Linked DNA regions of Homo sapiens: region 2 is linked to region 1. Evidence: promoter capture Hi-C in human tissues and cell types (Jung and others, 2019). All regions are on one chromosome and are shown on one strand. The core of a region is centred on a gene start or on the middle of the fragment in contact, and the rest is flanking DNA. Distances in the headings are between cores, read along the strand shown.

What was found. The method cuts DNA at HindIII sites, captures the fragments that hold promoters and counts their contacts. A contact is called where the count stands out against the background at its distance.
Region 2: a fragment that was not itself captured here is called in contact with the fragment with the promoter of PTAR1 in region 1 in 1 of the 25 tissues and cell types used here (IMR-90 fibroblasts).

Annotation. Positions count from the first base shown.
Region 1 is chr9:69,756,247-69,761,260 of GRCh38, forward strand. It overlaps PTAR1 (protein prenyltransferase alpha subunit repeat containing 1), which reads right to left and starts at 3,765. Exons shown (of 8, transcript NM_001099666.2): 1 at 3,607-3,765. The coding sequence starts at 3,692. It overlaps LOC105376076 (a long non-coding RNA gene), which reads left to right and starts at 3,849. Exons shown (of 4, transcript XR_929910.3): 1 at 3,849-4,227. RefSeq lists enhancers at 3,263-3,312, 4,787-5,014 and a silencer at 3,453-3,922. The HindIII fragment of the contact is 12,775 bases long and covers 441-5,014 here.
Region 2 is chr9:70,105,012-70,109,378 of GRCh38, forward strand. MAMDC2 (MAM domain containing 2) reads left to right here. Exons shown (of 14, transcript NM_153267.5): 3 at 3,200-3,471. Among named protein-coding and RNA genes, the nearest start is that of MAMDC2, 63 kb to the left of the region's middle. The HindIII fragment of the contact is 5,648 bases long and covers 1-4,367 here.

The DNA of each region.
Region 1 (5,014 bases), core at 2,515-5,014:
TTTCTTCACCCCTCATGTCTCACTCAGTTTAAATGCTATTGCCTCAGAAAGAACCTCTTGACCTTATAATCTAAATTGGGTCTCCCTGTTTTTATTCTAAGTACCCTTCTTACTTTTTATGACTCTTTTCATAATCTGTATGTTGACTGATTAAAGTTCCATTAGGATAGGGACCATGTGTGGTTTGTTCATTAAACCACCCAGTTTTTAACCCTGTATACCCAGAGACCAGCATTGTGCCTGTCAAATGGAGGTACTCTTTTGCAGAATGTATGAATGGAATGAAAGAAATTAAATGAGAGTCAAGGATCTCCATAATCTGGCCCTACTGTACCTTCTCAGCCACACTTTGCTTGTTTAGGTCAATTCACTGCTCCCTGTGGAGGTCTCTGGCTCCCTCTGAGACTACAAATCCTACCCAGACTTTAATACTTGGCTTAAAACCCACCTCCACTAGCACCCCTATCCGAGACATAACCAGCCTCCTCTCCACTTCTATTAGACTCCCATAGCACTTGCTCATCATGCTCCTATCCAACTTTTACTATAAACTACTTTGGAGGGTTAATTTACTGTTCATGCAGTTAGTCTTAGGTCTCATCTACACCTGCACTATGCATCACAGTAGTCACTAGGCACATGGAGCCACTACGTACAAATCCATTTAAATTAAATAAAATTTAAAATGTGGTCCCTGTTCATATTAGGGACACTTCAATTGCTCAATAGCTACTATGGCTAGTGGCTACCATATGGAACAGCACAGACACAGAAAATTTCCACCATTACAGAAATTTCTGTTAGTGCCTTGGGTTCAAGAACTGTATTTTAAACTTCTATTTCACACAGTAAAGATGGTACCCACAACACTTCATAAACAGTGAGTTCAATATTTAATAGAAAAAACAATAACTTGCTGGATAAGATTAATTTTAACGTGACTGTTTACATTATAAACTGTTGTCTTCTACATTAGCACAGGGTCCATACACTAAGTTAAAGACTATCCCTAGGTCAAGTTTTCAGTTTTAGAGAATCCAATATGATTATCTAATACTCAACCATACAAACAGCATTTATATAGTATTATCCAGGTTTATAAAGTGCTTCATATTCACCAATCATTTGTCCAATATATTTTTGGTGAGGAACACAGAGATTCAGGGAAGGTCTAATATTTATTGAGTGGCAACTAAGTACCACTGTGTGAGGTGATTTTCCTGTTTTCATCAGCCTCACAAGATCAAGAGGAAACTGAGGCTGAGAGAAGGTACCTATTCACATCATACAGTAACAAAATCCACATCTCACCACTGCATCCTCAACTCCTTCTGGCTAAATATTTCTACATAAACAAAGTCAATGTATTTAATGAAGTAGATGTTGGCCAATAAAATTACAACCGATCTTAAGTTTGGACAAGAAAAACAAAAAAATTTTTGTATAATACTGAAAGTGTAATTAGATACAGTAAAGTTAGATACAAACGTTACAGATAAACAATGCCTTAAAAAAAAAAAAAGAAACACAGCCTCTTTATTTTGGGAGTAAATGGGCTAAATTAAGGGAAGAAAGCGCAGGCAATTTTTAAAAGCCCAAATTATAAGGCACTTACAAAGATGCATAGTAATATTATTGAAAATAGTTTTACTGTGGGGAATATGTATTCAAATATAGCTGATGACTAGTCTTAAACAATGAGTTAAGCTATTTAAATGTTTAAGACCTATATTACAAATCATTACATTATTCCGAATATCCAACTTATCTCAAAGTTTTAAATCTCGAATGACCCAAATCCTTATTACTAATAAATTATACATTGAGGATATATTAATGAGGTTTTACAGTAGAAAAAGGATTAGGGAGGGGCATTAAAGTCCTTTAAGAGTTTCCATAAATGTGATCCACAAGAACTGGGACATGTTCCAAACTGCACTGTGTTAAAAACTGCCAAGCCAATGAACATTCAATCTTGGTTTCTTCAAATATAATGATGCTCTTTTAGTCTACCTCAAAGAAGAGAACATAAGATGATTACGACATTTTGTATTAGATTTCTAATCTCTGCTGTAATTTCTTCTAGAAAAATACCAGTGATGAGAAAATACACTCTTCATTTGTCCAACTTTTTTTTTTTTTGAGGTCGTCTCTTACTTGCACTAAGGCTCCCATTCTCAAAAAGAAATCGAAAGACTGATATACAGCAAGGCATCAAAGCATTCTTTAGAAGGCTCAGCAACCACTATGGATACTGCCAGGAAATCATTCCAAACACTCTCATTTTGAAAAAGGCAGCAGTCATAAGGGGGAGGGAAGTGGATGCTGTCAGAGGTGGCAGGTGTGTTTTGAGGCCAGCAGTGTTTTGTTTTTAATGTGGCACAGTTGCACGTCTCCAATTGTGTGCCACAAGGGAGCAAAACATCCAACGGCTTCTTAACTGTTTTACAATCATCACCTTGGAGGAAAAGAACACTTTGGTAAGATACACGTTTGGCAACTTTTTTAGGCAGAAAAGCTGAACCGGTTAGAATACTTAAAAAAAAAAATCATGAGCTCCAGTCTAAAGAATAAAATAAAAATAAATTAAATAATAATAAAAAATAATAAACTAAAAAAAAAAAAAATAAACTCCAAAAACAACTAGCTAAAATGAAAGTAATGCAGAACTGGATGCCATGTTTCTTTTCTTTGAGGAGGAAGAGGTATGGGAAAGGAGGTACATTGTTGCTTCTTCCCTACACCTTTGTATAATGTAGATCTCTCTCTCTCTCTCAATAGCTTTCTTTTCACTTGTTACATAAAAGCAAAGTGTTACAAAAAGTAGACTCTTGCGGTATCTTCCCACAGTACTTCAAGTAAAATGGAAGAGATACATATGTCAGTTCTGCAGTGTCCCGTTAAAGAGGGCAGCAGTGTTGGGATAAAAATGAGTTAACATGCTCCTTGTAACTATGAATCCGCTTATGCTAAAAAGTATCAAGGTTTCATTTGCTTTATCCCAGACTCCACACTGCGCCCACAGAAGCTTCTCTTGAGAATGTTCTGTTCACCTTTCAAAACACAATGTATTATCGGAGTCACTTTACAATTTTGTGGCAAGTAAGGCTAAAGTCAAAAGCAGCCTCAAACCACCTTTAGTTAGTAAACTGAGGGGTTTGAGGCTCATTAAAAGTAAGAGGATCGGTTACCCCCTCTTGCCAACGTCCGGGATGAATCTCAAGAGTTGTGTTTACAAGGCATACACGGACCCACATCGTTGTGTGCGCCCGAGTACCTTAAACACAGGAAGGATGTCGACCTACGGGGGACGTCTCTGGAGTTTCGTGAACTCCTATGAAAAGGTGGGGAGGGACAGAGAAAGTAGTTCCGTTTTGATTTTTTGAGGTCACTTCTAGGGACTCGACCGCGAGCGCGTCCCGGTAGCGGAAAGCCGGGCCAGCGGCGGCCGACAACGGTCCCGCCCGACACGGCTCTGCCTCCTCCCTAGAAGGGCTCGTGGGCCAGGACCCGCTGTCCGCCCGCCGCCCGAGGTCGGGTGGACGCTTGGCCCCGCCCCCGCCCGCTCCCGACGACCCTCGGAGGCGGCGGAGGCGCGCGACTCACATGTGTGGGTTCCTCCTGAAGGCGTTAGTGATGTCCTTCACAACCCGCTGCACCAGCACCGCCACCTCCTCGCTGGTCTCGGCCATGTTGGCGGCGGCCGCGACAGTTCGGGCGCGCCTCCGCGTGAGCCGGGCCGCCGGCGGGAGTTCCGCGGAGAACGAGCGCGCGCGCGCGCGCGCGGGTGCTTCGGCTAGGCCGCGTCCCCGCCGCCGCGGCCGCCGCCGAGCACTTCCGGGTCAGCCAGTTGGCGGCCTGGGCGTGGCGTTAGCTAGGGTTGGTGGCCTTCCAGTGAGTGGAGAAGTTCGCCTCCGCGCGGGTAACGGACTTTCTAAGCGTCAGAGAAGATGCTGGACATTTGTTTGCAAAGTTCTCTCAGGCCTCCGATTTTCTTATTTTAAGTTTTAGGCGAAACCTCAAGACACACTCCCAGAGAGTCAGACACCTTCCTGAACCCCCCCAGCAAGGTCCCCGGGCATTCCTGAAGGAATGTTCAACTGAGGATGCAGGGCCTCTTAACAGTTAGTCCCGGGCGTTTTTCAGAGCTTGTCTGCTTTATTTTCCCAGCCTGAGAGATGAAGAGGTCCAGAGGCATTGCGGCGGAGCGAGTCCCTATTTGACCGTGTTGGTGACCTCCTTTCTAACTGTGCCAATTTTTGTCTCTGAACTTGAAAGCAGCCTTTTTAAAAAACATTAATTAAAATTCTTAAATTTATTAAAGGAAGAGAAAGGAAAGTGAAGGAAAAGTTATTTGCCATCTGTATGTAGGAAGTAGAAGTGAAATCGTTTTTAGATTTTTCGACTTCATTTTGTACTGCATTTGGTAGCCTTTGCGTCAATTTTGGAATTTAAAAAAAAGGATCAAGGCTCTGACAGGGTTTGTTCATAATAGCAAAAATAAATTTTTGTAGGAAAAACGAGCTTTCTAGTTTATTTAGGATTTTGAAATGCCATAACTAAAATTTTTGTGTATCAGGTTTTCTTTTGCACCTCTGGTAGAAAAATCTGGCTGCCCTTGGTTCAGTTTTATTCTTCCACCCTTGAAATCTGGCCAGGTGCGGTGGCTCACGCCTGTAATCCCAGCACTTTGGGGGGCCAAGGCGGGCGGATCACAAGGTCAGGAGATCGAGACCATCCTGGCTAACACGGTGAAACCCCGTCTCTACTAAAAATACAAAAAAAAAAAAAAAAAAAAAAAAGCCGGGCGTGGTGGCGGGCGCCTGTAATCCCAGCTACTCCCCACTGCACTCCAGCCTGGGCGACAGAGCGAGACTCCGTCTTTAAAAAAAGGCCGGGCGCGGTGGCTCACGCCTGTAATCCCAGCACCTTGGGAGGCCGAGGCGGGTGGATCATGAGGTCAGGAGATCGAGACCATCCTGGCTAACAAGGTGAAACCCCGTCTCTACTAAAA
Region 2 (4,367 bases), core at 729-3,228, 350 kb after region 1:
AAAGAAAACTTCGTTAATTCACTCGGTGGTAAAATGATTCTTTTTAAGTAAAAAGAACTCACAGATTTATTCTAGAATAGCAATTTTCTTAGTGACAAGGCAGGGAAAGGCAACATCCTTGACATTAATATCTTCCTCATCCTATATTTTCTAAAACTTCTTCAAAATATACCGTGTTCCTTCTAGTTCAATTTAGCTATAACGTGACCACAAAATATACCCCTACACTGAAGCCACAAGCAGAGATAACAAGTAGTTTCAACTCAAGTGCCAACTCAGATTGATTGGTAGTGGTTACATGCAGCACTATGTTTAGAAGGATTCTAAGGCTGTATCCAGAGCAGGCCTGGAAAACGTAGTGATTAATTTAGAAAATTAGTCTTGAAGTTGGCAGTGATAGTGGAGGTGGGCGGTGCTTGGGCTAATGATTAGGTCTAGGAAAATGCATCATTCTGCTGAGTGGATTGCATCCAATCAGCTGGGTAGATACATCTTTGCATGGACTGTAATGCTGCTAAGAGGCACGTTCACATGGCGTGACCTAAAAACAAATATGAGATCTTTAATTTAAATGCAAAATTCCAATATTTTAAAATAACCCACATTTATGGCTAAGATGTCAAAATCACTCAATGAATAGCACCGACTTTCATCACACAGAATAAAATCTAGGTATTTTAAATAGTACATTTTATATAGTGTGTGCTCTCAAAGGTTCTTGACAAGAGAACATTAGCATAAGCTTATAGTAAAATCTGATCAGGTGAGAGAGAATGTCAAGAGAATTTTTTTATGGCACTCACTGAAAAGCCAAGATAATCACCAGCAGATGGACTCTGTGCACCTGCTTTAACACACATTCACTTAAATTCGAGTTGTACCTTCCAGCAGAACCGTTGCCTACCTCCTTTACATGCTACAGGAGCCTGCACTTTCTTTGGTAGATGAGAGGTGGCTGGAGAATGAACCCTATTTACCTGTCCATACATTGTAAGTCAGCAGTTCTCAAAGACCAGTAGCAACAGTATCACCTGGAACATCCAAGAAATGCAATCTGTTAGAAATGCAGCATCACCCCAGCTCTACTGGATTGGAAACTCAAGGGGTGGGCCTGGGGATGTGTATTTGAACAAGATATCCAGGTGACTCTGGGCTCAACTTTAAGAGCATTGCTTTGAGTTGTCCCTTTCTGGAGTGGGGAAAGGAAAAGGGGAGGGAGAGAAAAGGGGAGGCTGGGGAAGTACCCAGGGAAAATTGAGCCTCCCATGGCAGCAAAGTTGGTATTTGATATGAATGTTGATAGGACATAGCAAGGTCTTTATTTGTTTCTTTCCTCTTTTATACTCCATGTCCAACTCTCTACTTCTTCGGAAAAGGTTTGAGGTACTCACGTGATCTCCCCCAATCCAGCCTGCTTGAAGTCCCTTCTTTTGGGGCAGTAGCAAAGAGTGGGGAAAGAGGATGGTGCTAATACATTCCTCATGCCACAAGAAGCAGCACTTTTTATCCAAAAAGGGTTGGCCTCAAGAGCCCCAGCTTAGAATAGTCAAACCCAACAAGGCCTTCACCTTGGAAATGCACGTGAAGCACTTAGAACAGCACTTGGGCCTGAGTTGCAGTGAGTGTCGCCTGTACGTGGGAGGTATGATGGTGTCAGCAATTGCTGCAAGGGCCAGATTTCTCCACAAGGGTGCCTGGGTTGGCATCTAGAAGCAATTGCTATCTGCACCCAGTGGGCGGTTGCTATGTTAAGAAGATTGCCAGGAAGAGTTAGATCTTGATCTTGAAATCCTTCAGTCGGCAAGAAAGGATCCCTGAAGACAATGCCCTAACTGTGTCCCTCATGTGAGGATGGCCGTCATCTGAGCTCCAGTTAGCCTGTCGGTACTCGCCACGGATATAAGGATCCAGGCTGGGATGGGCATTTGAGACAACAAGCGTGGGAGGACAGGCTGAAGAACATCAAGCAAAACAAAGAGGCTTTTCAGATCCTTTCTCGTAAGAGTTTAGGGTTAGGGAGACCGAAGTGCAGACACAGGGTGGTGGAAGCCACAGGACGAAAGACAGCAGGTTAAATGACAGCCATGAATGTGGGGCCCTCCGAGAAAGCATGAGAATCTGCAGGCCAGAAAGGCCCAGGAGGTCCCCAAAGACCCACAGGCAATTGGATCATTGACATAGGAAACCAGATGGCCAGAGGTGGGTTTGGAAGGCTCGAGTTAAGGTTCTTGGCTTCAATGCCCCACCAACTTTTATAGAAATGCTTTTCATATCTTGTACAGCCAGCAGAAAGCACTTGTCGATATTAGGAGGGTAGAGGGAGAAGGGAAGGAGAATGAACAGAGGAAAAGGAAAGGAGGAGGAGAAGGACGGGGAAAGGGGAATAAGAAGACAGAAGAGAGGAGGAAAAGGAGAAAGGAGGAAACAGGGAATCCGAAAGGAGAAGTGAGGATAGAGGAGAAGGAAGGACAATTGCTAGTCCCAGAGTGTCCAGTGCTTTCCCAGCCCTGTGCTACATGTTTTGCAAGTGTTTCCTCATTTATTTCTCAGAACTATGAAATTTGGTCATGGAAGAGTCAAGGGAAGGAAGTCTTATTCCTAATTTAATAAAAAATAGCTTACAATGTACTTTTTCTGCCTAGGTCCCAAGATCCAGGCTTAGGTAACCAAATCAATTCAGTCTACATAATGATGCAAGTTAAATGCAGATTGAAACATTAGGTAATGGGGAGAGCTATGTAAGGAGAAGGTTGAGTCCACCCAGTTATTCTGACTTCAGTCATGCCGCTCTTCTGATTCTGATGTCCCTCAGCCTGCAGAAACATATGCCTATGGGGACCAGGGAGATGAATGCAATGTGCTAAATGGGCCTGGTGTAAAAGAATAAAAAGCAGAGACACTCAGTGTGAGGAGTGAAGAGGGACTGATGGCAATTATGGCAAAGTGGAGACCACATGCCACCCTCTGAAGAGGCAGCACCACTCAGCTCCAGCCTGTTGTCATCATCTGGTAACATGGTCTCAGTGCTTTGTAATTTTTTCAAAAGAGGCCAGTGATCCAGTGTTCAGGCAACTTTCAGTGGGTTGACAAAATATATCTGCAGGTTTATCTGCCCAGAGATTTACTTAACTGCAGTTACGTATTTTTCCAGGTTGCAAACAAAAATTGATCCTTTTCCTATGTTCCTTTCTCTTTCCAGGCCATTACATTTATGTGGATACCTCCTTTGGCAAGCAGGGGGAGAAAGCTGTGCTGCTAAGTCCTGACTTACAGGCTGAGGAATGGAGCTGCCTCCGTTTGGTCTACCAGATAACCACATCTTCGGAGTCTCTGTCAGATCCCAGCCAGCTGAACCTCTACATGAGATTTGAAGATGAAAGCTTTGATCGCTTGCTTTGGTCAGCTAAGGAACCTTCAGACAGCTGGCTCATAGCCAGCTTGGATTTGCAAAACAGTTCCAAGAAATTCAAGGTAGGTGGAGTTTAGGAGAAAGATATAAGGCCTATTATCTTTGCTTTATACTATTCTAAAATCTTATGAAAACTTCTGACATGGAGGTTAGTTATCTCCTGGATTATGACGTGATGTTTCATAAGATACATACCATAGAAGAATATTAGCAATGGAAATTAACATTTTGTTTATTCCTTAAAAGAGCTTCTTCCCAGATTTCTTTCCCATCTATTTAAATGAGCCTTCTGTAAAAATCTAAATGGGGCTTAAATCAACCTCTTCAATGAAAATAGATTTTCTATGGCTTTAGGGAGTATTCTCATTTCTATAATTTTATTTCATCCTTCTAAATTGTGTGTGCTATGTGTTTGTTTATCTTCTTAATCATTTCTTTGCTACAAATTTTGAACAAAAGATTATAATAAAAGGAAAGTGAAAATACTTTAAAAGAGAAAAGATACTTAAAGGACATGTTCCATTTCCTTTTCAAAGAGGGAAGTTGTTCCTTTGGGAGTCCTGGAAAAGGAAGGTAGCGAATGTAAGGTGAAGCTGGGTGTGGACTGGATAAGGAAGGAGGATGGGATCCAGACACACCTGGCCATGAAGTGTGATGTTTATTGAAAATATTTCATCGGGGACACAATGGAGCCATCATGAAAATATTCCCCATTCCTAATCCGTCTTTCAATTTCCTATCCCATCCCACTTCTTTGAAAGGCTTGAAATGCTTTACTCTCCAATACCCACTGTCTGCTTGGAGTCCTTCCCTGTCAGCCAGTGGTTGAGGATGGAGCATGGGGGCTCTGAGTTCTCTCTTTAACAACTTCTTCCCAGCAGTTATCACCTCCTAAATCTGCCAGCATAGTTGCAGAATATAGGGCTAAAACCACAGGAGAAAAAGTGATTACTTTCAG